3 separate regions of the Homo sapiens genome follow, and all the other regions are linked to region 3. Evidence: promoter capture Hi-C in 16 types of primary human blood cells and fetal thymus (Javierre and others, 2016). All regions are on one chromosome and are shown on one strand. The core of a region is centred on a gene start or on the middle of the fragment in contact, and the rest is flanking DNA. Distances in the headings are between cores, read along the strand shown.

Region 1 (3,318 bases), core at 600-3,099, 290 kb before region 3:
CACATGCATGCCTGCAAAGGTGTCAGTGTACACAGCCTTACTAAACTCACAACACGACCGCTTCACATTGCATATTGTTTCCAAAGAGAAGCGTGGGATTCAAACATTCATGAGAGGGAGCCTCTGGCAGAGGTGAAAAGACCGGCAGGGGGCGAGAGGCGGGAGTCAAGACTGTCCATTGGTCGGCGTAAGAGTTCCTCCACGTGCCTGGCCACATCCATGGTCTCATCCAGGTCGAATTCTCCATCCTGATCGAGTACATGGTCAGGGCTGGTAAAGACAGGGGGATGTCAGAGGGAGCTGGCATGTCTCACAGCCTCAAGCTCCCTGGGGACAGCCTCCAGCCTGCTCTCCACTCAAACCCGTCTCATGAGAACAGGACCAGTTCTGGCTGGATGCCCCCACCCCACCCCAAGCTGGGTAGCAGTCAGCCCACTGGCTTCTGCAGACCCCCACTCTATTCGCATCTCTTGCTAACTCACTGAATAATCTTAGGGAATTCATTTCCCCTCTCCGTGTCCTCATCTTAAAACCAGGTGGCTGACACAGTGGGCTCTGCCCACCTGCAATGATGCTCAGCTGCAATGGTAGGCACCGCCCCGTTCACTGAGCACTTAGAACAGCTGAATCTTTTCACTGAGCACCTAGAACAGCTGAGCCTATTGAGCACATGACTCCAATTTTTACAGCCAACTGGAGAGTGGGTATTGACCCCGTTTTATAGACGAGAAAACCAAGGCCATATCAGGAAGCTTGCTCTGGGCCACCTGGCTGGGAGGTGGTGGAGTCCGGATTGGAACCTGGGATCTTCAGTGGTCCCACTGGAAGGTGGTACCTCCCAGACATCCAGCCCTGGCTATCCACAGTGAGGAAGGGAATTAATTATCTACCTTGTTCCCACCAGACTCAAGAACAACCACCCCATTCATAGCTACCCTGTATCAAGCCCTTCCAAGCCCCTCCCTGTGGAAATGCTTCACCCACACTGTCTCAGTTTAATGCTCATCCCATTCTCATGAGGCAAGCATTCTTGCCTCCGTTTTACACATAAGGAAACTTGAGCATCAGAGAGGCTCAATCATTTTCCCAAGATCACACAGTTAGTACTAGAGTGAGGACTTGACCCTGCTATGTCTAGCTTCAAAATGCTCTGTTTTCCTGGCTGATCTCACTCCTCCTGGACTTGGGCCTAACCAGAGCTCTGGATCCTTTGCCCGCCAGCCCTCCAGGAGTCCAGCCTGGGGCCAAGTCCCCAGTTCTTCCCCTGCGGACCCCATGAGAACACCACCTACTTCTGTGGGTACATGTTATAGGGAGCCTGGGGGCACACAGCTGGGGAGGGGGCCTGGTCCATGTACGTGGCGCTGCTGCCCCCAGCATCTGCAGATGCATTCACAAACCTGCAGAAGGAAGAGAACAGAGCTTCAGCCACCAGGGAGGCCGGGGCAGCTGACTTGGGGAGGGGACCGAGGGGCATGTTTGTCTTTCTCGGGGTGTAGACGGACAAAGTGCCCCACTCGGCCCTGGGGCTCCAGCTACAGGAGAGGGGACTCCCTCCCCAGGGCTGAGACAGGTTCCCTGGGGGAGCGGAAAGCTGGGCCCAGGATCAGGATGGGAGGCAGGGTCTGGGGGAGGAGGAAAGAGGCAGAAGGAGAGCCACAGCCACCTGGACACTTACTCAGGGACCACTTGCTTGATCTGTGGTTTCACATATCCATCAACAGCTTTAGCTGTCAAGGGAAGAACAGTGGTGAGAACCAAAGTCTCTGGGAACTCCCAAGTGGGGTGGAAGCCCACGCCCCATGTAGTCTCCCTCCTGCTCACATCACCTTGTGTTCTCAGCTGGGATGAGATTTCCCAAGGACCCCCAATAAACACCAGCTGATGAATCCTGCCTGAGGGTCACTGAGACCCCTGGCTTGAATCCCATTCCTTCTGGTTCTTTTTCTGGCCATCTGATTTCCCTCTCCCTGCTCCCACCCCTGTCAAAGAATGAGAATCAACAAGCAAACCCAACCAATGGATTTGGGGCAGCTGGAAGAAGAGAGACTTCTCCCTTTTGCTGCCTGCACTCCACTCGGGGGAAGGTTTGTGAGCAGGGTGTGGAGAGCAGCTGGTGAGGTGGGGAGCGGAGCACTATCTGTGGGCTCGAATGATCCCGGCCACTCCCTACAGTGCTGCCACCCCTTCCTCCGAGGGTGCAGAAGTGAGAATCCATGCAGCTTTCACTTTGCAGAGAAGAGAGCTGGGACGGGTTTCTCGTTCCCTCTCCTCATTTGTGAGCCCTGAAATCCTCTCCACCACCCCATGGGCCAAAACCCACAGGGGACATGGCCCCTAGGCTCCTCCTGGGGAAGTCCCCACGGCGCAGCCCAAGGCTTTGTCTATGGGCTGGGGAAGAGCCCGGGGGAGTCAGCCGGCAGGGTCCTGGGGCAGTACCCACCCAGCACAGGAGTGTAGTACTTGGAGAAGACCTCATCCTTGGGGCGGTCAGGAAACACATAGATGAGATAGCTCAGGTCCCCCAGCCGGTCAGCCAGGGACCTGATGGAGAAATCCCGCGTGGTGAATGGTTTCAGGTTCCACAGGTTGCGTTCCGCTGTGAAAAGAACAGCCTCATTCCCATAATCCACCAGCAGCAGGAGGACCAAGGTTGTGGGGCTTTAGGGCAGGCTTGCAAGAGAAATCTGGGCTTTTATATAGTAGCTTGCGCTGCAGCCCCAGCCTGTAGGGAAGAAAGCCGATGCGGGATGTTCTACTCAGCAAACCAGATGAGCAGATACCAACAAGGCTGGGTCGTGGCAGAGAGGGGAGAGCGTGAAACTGCAGGAGGACTCGCCCAGCCGTCCTGGAGTCTATGGGGCTGGGGACTTCAGGTTCTCCAAAATGGAAAACAATAGAAAGAGAATACATTTCCAAGCCACAGCCCTCTCATACTAAGCTTCCCGCTGGGTACCTTCTAAGGACACAGGCCCGATGGAGGGTGGGGTGGCGGGGCAAGGGAACAAGAGACCGGGCCTTGGGGCTGGAGTGTGGGCAAAACGGGCACTCACGGGAGTCAAACTTCCAGGCGATGGTGATGCCCCCGATTTCTGAGTCACTAAAGCGCAACAAGAAGGTCCCGTCGGGCTTGTTGATGAGCAGGTCGTGGGCCTGTTGCTTATTCACAAAACCTAGGATGGCCCTGGGTGCACGGAGCATTGAGCGTCACCACTGGGCCACAGCCACAGTCTCTCTGCGCCCACAGCTGGCCCCTGACCCTGCAGCCCCCGTTCCTTACCCATCATTCCAGTGGGGCTTGTGGTGCTTCTTCAACAC
Region 2 (3,155 bases), core at 125-2,624, 500 kb before region 3:
TCCAGCTACTGAGACCACCTCTGAGGGAACGCGGTGGGGCCTAGCAGTGGGTTCCTGCTTCTCACCCACTTGTGTTAGGTTTGAATTCTTCATGTTGAATAGACTGTGTTCCCATGTGGCAAGGGTTATTTCAGAACAGCTGAAACGAGATTTACATGTCCCCTTTTCATTCAACAATACATAGCCAGAGAGTGGACAAGTCACCTGAGGGTCCCAGGCCATTACCTAGGAGTGAATGTCAGCCTTGGTAGGGTATGCTGACCCCCGACTCCAGTGAGGTGTCCAGAACTCTGACCCCCACCCCCTCCTGGCTAATCACAAAACCATTCTAATCTTCAAACTGGGCAAATGGAGCAGCAGCTTTGTTTTCAGATGCCTGTGGGGGCACCGCCCTTTTCTTGGCACCCCTCCAGTCACCTTATCTACCCATGGGGGCCCAGCAAGGAGGAAGAGGGATATATGCCTGGGAGGGGCACATCAATTGTACTGTGTGAGCAGACAGGTGGCCTCCCTGACATACTGCCCAATACTGCCCCTCCCACCAGCTGCTGCTTTAGAGACTTAGAGCGGCCAGAACTGGGACATCTTGGGTCTATCTTGAGGTCAGCCTGATTTCACCTCCTTCCGTGGCCACCCTCACCCCAACCACCCAGCACAAAGCTGGAAAGCAATTTCCCTGCTAGTCTCCCCACTCTCTCCCGCTGAACTGGGGAAATGTGTGCTTCCTGAGAAAGTACAAACATGAAGTTCCCCAGGGCAAGGGGGGCCCCATCTGCCATCCTAGGTTCTTCCTTCTTTTTGGGCATCTCCACTGCTCTGCTCAGGGAGCCTCCAAAGTCTTGCCATGCCCCAAGACACTGAAATGCACCTCTAGAATTCAACAGCTGTGAGGAGAGCCTCAGGACGCCAGATGAGTGTCTCTATCATCTCTTCCAGCTCCAGCACTTGGCAAAGGCCACCTGGTGACTCAGAGGGATTAACTGGGGCCAAAAGACATCATTCATGCCACGTAACAGGAACTCTGTTTCCTCGAGTGGGTGAAGGAGGAAGGAGTCTTGGGGCCGCTTCCCTTCCCTGGTGGGGGTTGTGACTGAGGGCAGGCAGTCTGGAAAGACAATTCTGGGCTGAGCTGTTTATGTAGCCTGTTCTGCCACTCTCTGTGCCGTTCAGGGCCTACAACACACATCTGTCTGACGGCCTGAATATCAGGGCAATGATGGCAGCCTGGAACTACATTTCAAGAGTTCTGAGTTCTCCTGGGCAGCCATTCCCTCAACTGCTCCATGCTGTCATGCCGTGGCAACACTGCATTCCTAACAAGAAGCTGGTCCCCGATTCTGTCCCTTTAATCACCACCCAATCTGTGAGTGTACAGGTAGGTGTACATCTATGTGTATGTGGAATTCGCTAGGTAAGGAGAGACCAGGTTCCTTGGAAGGTATGCCCTGGGGCAATAGTTCTGCATAAAAATCAGTTTGATGTTTACAGTGATAACTACAATCAAATCCCTGTCTCATGCCTTCTCTGAGGAAGAAAAGATGTCTAATTATGGTAGGTAAGAAGCCAAGCACACTTCATGTGGCAGGAGGGAGGAAAAGAGAGAAAACTCAGGAGACAGAATTAGCAGATTAATACATTAGCCTGCTCACTGTTTTCAAACACATCACCCCCCTTCCTATGATGCTGCATGAATCTCACACTAGTGGTTTATATGTTATCGAATCAAATGTTTTTCTTATTGTCCCCACTGAGGAGACCAGAACTTGTATAATGGGGCAGCCCTTGAATCAGGAAACAGCAGGGATAAAGTGGGAGGTATGAAGATGCCTAGGATGGATGCCAGGAAGAACAGCAGCACCATCCCTACAGCTGGTTCAGCAGCCCCAGAGGCTCCACCCCTGGTAAGAGGGCCACAGCTCAGAACGCCTCCTGCAGTCCTGGGCCACAGGGAAGATCCAGGCATCCTGGACGCACAGCCGCATTTTGCCAGGAGGGGGCGCACAAGCACCAATTTCATTCACTTCTGTTTTAGTGGTGGGGGAGGCGCCCCACTCGTGTCACGGGAACAGCCCTCCAAAGACGAGATTCTGGAAGTTGCACAAAGGAGGTTTGCACTGTTTTTTCCTCTCCTACCCAATACTCCTATTGCCAAAATAAATACGACATATATGGGGAGGCTGTTCCTTGCAAACAGCACCTGAGGGCATTCTGATGGTATCCTCTGCCTCCTCTGGGGTCTTCTCTCACTCTAGACAGGCTAAAAGCAGTCTTTTTATGGGGGACCCCAGGCAGACACCCTCTCTCTAGGGCATCCCAGGTTTTTTTGTTGTTGTTGTTGTTGTTGTTGTTTTGAGACGGAGTCTCGGTCTGTCGCCCAGGTTGCAGTGCAGTGGCGCGATCTTGGCTCACTGCAACCTCCATCTCCTGGGTTCAAGCGATTCTCTTGCCTCAGCCTCCCGAGTAGCTGGGATTACAGGCGCCCACCATCACGCCCAGCTAATGTTTGCATTTTTAGTAGAGATGGGGTTTCACCATGTTGTCCAGGCTGGTCTCGAACTCCTGACCTCAGGTGATCTGCCTGCCTCAGCCTCCCAGAATGCTGGGATTATAGGTGTGAGCCATCGCACCCAGTAAGGGCATCCCACTTTTAAGCAGAGCAGCCACTACCCATCCTAGAGCACCTGCTTTTGCTGTGGCAGCACTTGGTGTGTGCATTACTTCCTACTTGCTCACAGTAATCTTGGCAGTGAATGTTCTGCTCAGGTTCCCTGCCTGGTGTGACAGTGCTGGAATTCCAACCCAGGTCGCCCAATTCCGGAGCCTGCTGTCCTGCCACTCATCACTTCAGTTCAGGGGGACCTGGGAAGACACGGGGAGGCCACAGGTGAGCCTGAGGAGGAAGCAATCTTCTGGCAACAAAATGAGGCTCAAGCCCAGGCGGCCTTGCTCTGCAACAGTGCCTTGCTCCCGCCCTGCCCAGGGAGATGACCGGCTACCCACGTGGGCTGGAATCAAGGTGAGGTGGTCACTGTTCCCTCAAACCCAGGGCTCAAGAGACAGGAGTGAAAAGAAAAGAAAGGAGGCCAAGGGGCAAGAAAAAGTGAGTCCTCAGAGGTTCTCGTGCACTGAGGAGGGCTGAGGAAGTGTGCTTGCGG
Region 3 (3,358 bases), core at 796-3,295:
TCAAAGGCTTTGTGTGGTAGGCCAAAGAGATCAAATTGACGGCAATGGAAAGCCATTGCCAATGAAGAGACATGATCAGTCCCTGAGGAAGGTCACTCTGGCAGAAGAGGGAAGACTGAACAGAGATGAAATTAGAGACCGATTAGGAGACTATTGATGTATTCCAAGTTTTTTTTTCTGTTGTTTTGTTGTTGTTGTTGTTGCCGTTTTTGAGACAGGGTCTTGCTCTTTTCTCCATGCTGGAGTACATTGGTGTGATCATAGCTCACTGCAGCCTCTAACTCCTGGGCTCAAGTGATCCTCCTGCCTCAGCCTCCCAAATAGCTGGGACTACAGATGCATGCCACCACACCCAGCCTATTCCAAGATTTTAAAAAATGATGAGCGCCTGAATCGGGATGGAAAGGTGGAGATAGATTTGGGAAATATTTGGTAGGAGAATCAACAAAACTTGGCAACAAATTGGAAGCCAAGAGTGAGAATGGTTTAATCCATTTAACAAGATACGGAATTTAGGAAAGATAATAATTACATCCAACATTTGTTTTTTCTGTTGTTGAGGTGTGGGTAGACAATGAAAAAGTTAAATTTAAATATGGTAAGCCTTGGGGATTTGTGAAACATACAAGAGATATCCAGTAGATAGTTGGATATACAGCTGTGGAAGCTGAAGAAAGGTCTAGGTTGGAGATATGAAAAGTTGAGAGTCATCAACAGATGGAAGTAAAGCTGTGGGAATAAATGAGTTGCCTTAGATAGAACATAAAGTGGGAAGATGGTGAGACAGGTTGGCTAGCATTAGACTGGACTATGAGCCACTGGCAGGCAGGGCAGGTGGTCTGTAAGTCTTGTGCCCTCACAACCTAGCACAGAGTAGGCGTTTTGGAAAGGGCTGAGTGATTGGCTCAACGAATGACCCCTCCTTTCCAACCTAGTGAGCTTGTCCTATCCCTCCCTACTCAGTGGTCGCTGTGGTTTCAGCTCCCTCCACACTGGGATAGGCAGAGTATGAGCATTGGCACATGCTGTTTTCCTGGAACAAACAGGTAAATCCTTTTAAAATTCCTTTGCCCTCTTCTTATTTTACTCTTAGCTTTACATTGTAAAGCTACTCCTCATACTCCTCCAATTTAACCCCAGAAAGCTCCAATTTAATTCAGCTCCACAAATAGTCGTTTGGGTGAGGGAATAACAACAAAGACAGTTAAACTGTGCCCTTGTCCCCTATGAATTCTCAATCCAGACCGCATTCGGCAAGGCAAGCGTGATGAGTAGAGAGTTTATATAAGAGGTGGGAGTACTGGGGACACAAGAGCAAGGACCTCACCCCGCGAGCTTCCTTATAAACTCCAGGGCAGGGTCTGGGGCGCCATGTGTCAGCTTTCCTAGGCTTAATGCTGAGATGGCACTCCCAGGCGGCTGACATGAAAGGAGCCTTGTAAAAGGGTCAGCGTCATTAGGGTGATGAACCAGTTGGTGTTTGGAGATCCGGAGTGGATGAAAGGCGCAGGGTGAAGACGCCCTGCGTTCCCCTGGCTTGACTGGGCAGGGCTTCCAGAGAACGATGAAAGCTGGGGGAACTGAGCTCAAAGTGTCTCTTGACTTTCCCGGGAAGAAGCTGTGGACACACTCCAAGGTCGGAAAGGTAGCAGTGGGGACTCCTTCCCTACAGAGTCTTGGGTCACCTGGTCCCCACGCAACCCAGACTCCACGGAGCCTTTCAGGAAGACTCTCTAGGATTGGAAGTTGCTATGGCAATGAGGCTCTTGGAATACTGAAAGCAGCCAAGCCCTAGAGAGGCTACCACCGGTACACCCCGCCTTCCCACCCACGGGTAAAGTGGCGCCGCCTACGCACCGGCACAGCCCCTGGGCTCCCGCCCCGGCGCGGAGACCACCGTGGACATCCGGGGGCGGGAGGCCGCTCTGGCCCCAAGCGGAGCCTCTCTCTGGTAGACGAGCCCGAGGGAGCCCTTCTGGGCGCGGCGCCGCGGAGCTGCTCTATGCTCCAACCGGAAGTGCTCTTCACCGCCGGCCTCCCACCCAGCTCTCTGGTCCCGGCGGTAAGATGGCGGCTGCCGCGGAGTGCGATGTGGTAATGGCGGCGACCGAGCCGGAGCTGCTCGACGACCAAGAGGCGAAGAGGTAACCGGGTAGCAGGGTAGTAGAGGAGGCGACCTGCAGCTCCGTGGCTCAGGGAAACTCGTTCCTGCCATGATGCAGCCCCCAGCTGTTGAGGCGATGCCCCGCCCTCCGCAAACACCCCCCCATCTGAGATCAAGGCCGGATGGACCCCCTGAAGGGGCGCTCTTGGGGGTCGGCCTTCCTCTCCCGCTTCCGCCTGGCGTAGGAGCTGAGGCATGGCCTTGTTCTCCAGCTGAGAGGACGATCGTCCTTATAGGAGAGGCCGAGTCTCCGAGGGCAATTTCAGAGGTCTGGTGCGAGGTGGGGGAAGCGGCGCGGCGTCGATGACGACTTCCTTACATCGCCCCCGACCCCCGCGTTCTCTTGTTAACTTCTGTGCATTGTTGCCTGTCTGCACTTTCCGTCTCCAAAACCTTTGCTCTCCTCACCCCGTTTTCCCTTGTAATTATACCCCAGCGATCACTAGTCTGGGTTCGAAGTGATTGTGTGTCTCCATAATTGACCTGGTTGCCCCCGGTTATCCCAGAAGTCAAAGATGACAGAGAAAAAAAGGAAGAGCGAGGGGCTTATCTCGTGTTCTCTACGTCAGACTCCTCTTCCCCTGTCCTTCCTGGGTGATCTTTATCCTTCCCAGCACTGTTCTTTCTTAAGTTAAGCACCAAGGAAGAGGGCAACTGCTTGGGCGCTGTTGGCACTCCGAAGCAGCCGCAGTGGTTCGAGATTGCCAGTCGGACTAGCCAAGGGAGCTGCTGAGTGAGTGGTTTTCGAGAACGCTCTAGATTCTGGCAACAGTTAGGCCAGATTATTGGAAGTGGGGTTGGAACAGAGTTGTGGGTAGTCATACTTGTTCTAATCCTAAAGCAGAATTGACAAGAAGGTTCTAGAAGTTTGGAGCCCTTTCCTTATCAGCTGCGGGTTAGTCTGACCCTTTTGTTCAAGATATCTACAGTGCCCTCAGTCTCTTTGCAACATACTTTATATCTTCATACCAAGCCCGTTGTGTCTTCAGGCTGGGTAATTTGAGGCGGTGATGTAGAATTAGTTCATGAGATCTGAAATCAGGATTCTGAGATTTTTACTATCTAATGAGTTCGAAATATAAGAAGTACTCGGACGCAATGAATAGTTATCAAGCTTGAGGGTGGTTACCACAGCCAGATCTCAAGTTCCTGATCTGCTGGGAGCTGAGGGGCCTGACAAAGTGTAATAGGCCC

Evidence for each region. The method cuts DNA at HindIII sites, captures the fragments that hold promoters and counts their contacts. A CHiCAGO score of 5 or more calls a contact.
Region 1: a contact is called between a fragment that was not itself captured here and the fragment with the promoter of DNAJC7 in region 3, in 1 of 17 cell types (fetal thymus). The highest score is 5.3, in fetal thymus.
Region 2: a fragment that was not itself captured here is called in contact with the fragment with the promoter of DNAJC7 in region 3 in 5 of 17 cell types (fetal thymus, erythroblasts, naive CD8 T cells and 2 more); the score reaches 7.4 in fetal thymus.

What each region holds. Positions count from the first base shown.
Region 1 is chr17:42,307,459-42,310,776 of GRCh38, reverse strand. It overlaps STAT5A (signal transducer and activator of transcription 5A), which reads right to left. Exons shown (of 19, transcript NM_001288718.2): 14 at 3,281-3,318; 15 at 3,054-3,184; 16 at 2,444-2,599; 17 at 1,679-1,730; 18 at 1,293-1,400; 19 at 1-270. The coding sequence ends at 108. Among named protein-coding and RNA genes, the nearest start is that of STAT5A, 21 kb to the right of the region's middle. The HindIII fragment of the contact is 2,189 bases long and covers 755-2,943 here.
Region 2 is chr17:42,516,476-42,519,630 of GRCh38, reverse strand. The region is part of intron 21 of ATP6V0A1 (ATPase H+ transporting V0 subunit a1); the gene reads right to left. Among named protein-coding and RNA genes, the nearest start is that of MIR5010, 3.9 kb to the right of the region's middle. RefSeq lists a silencer at 2,032-2,081 and an enhancer at 2,525-3,024. The HindIII fragment of the contact is 3,596 bases long and covers 1-3,155 here.
Region 3 is chr17:42,016,126-42,019,483 of GRCh38, reverse strand. DNAJC7 (DnaJ heat shock protein family (Hsp40) member C7) reads left to right here and starts at 2,045. Exons shown (of 14, transcript NM_003315.4): 1 at 2,045-2,144. The coding sequence starts at 2,068. It also overlaps a transcript of NKIRAS2 not described here. RefSeq lists a silencer at 1,737-1,886 and enhancers at 1,997-2,406, 2,477-2,526, 1,637-2,836. The HindIII fragment of the contact is 9,207 bases long and covers 1-3,280 here.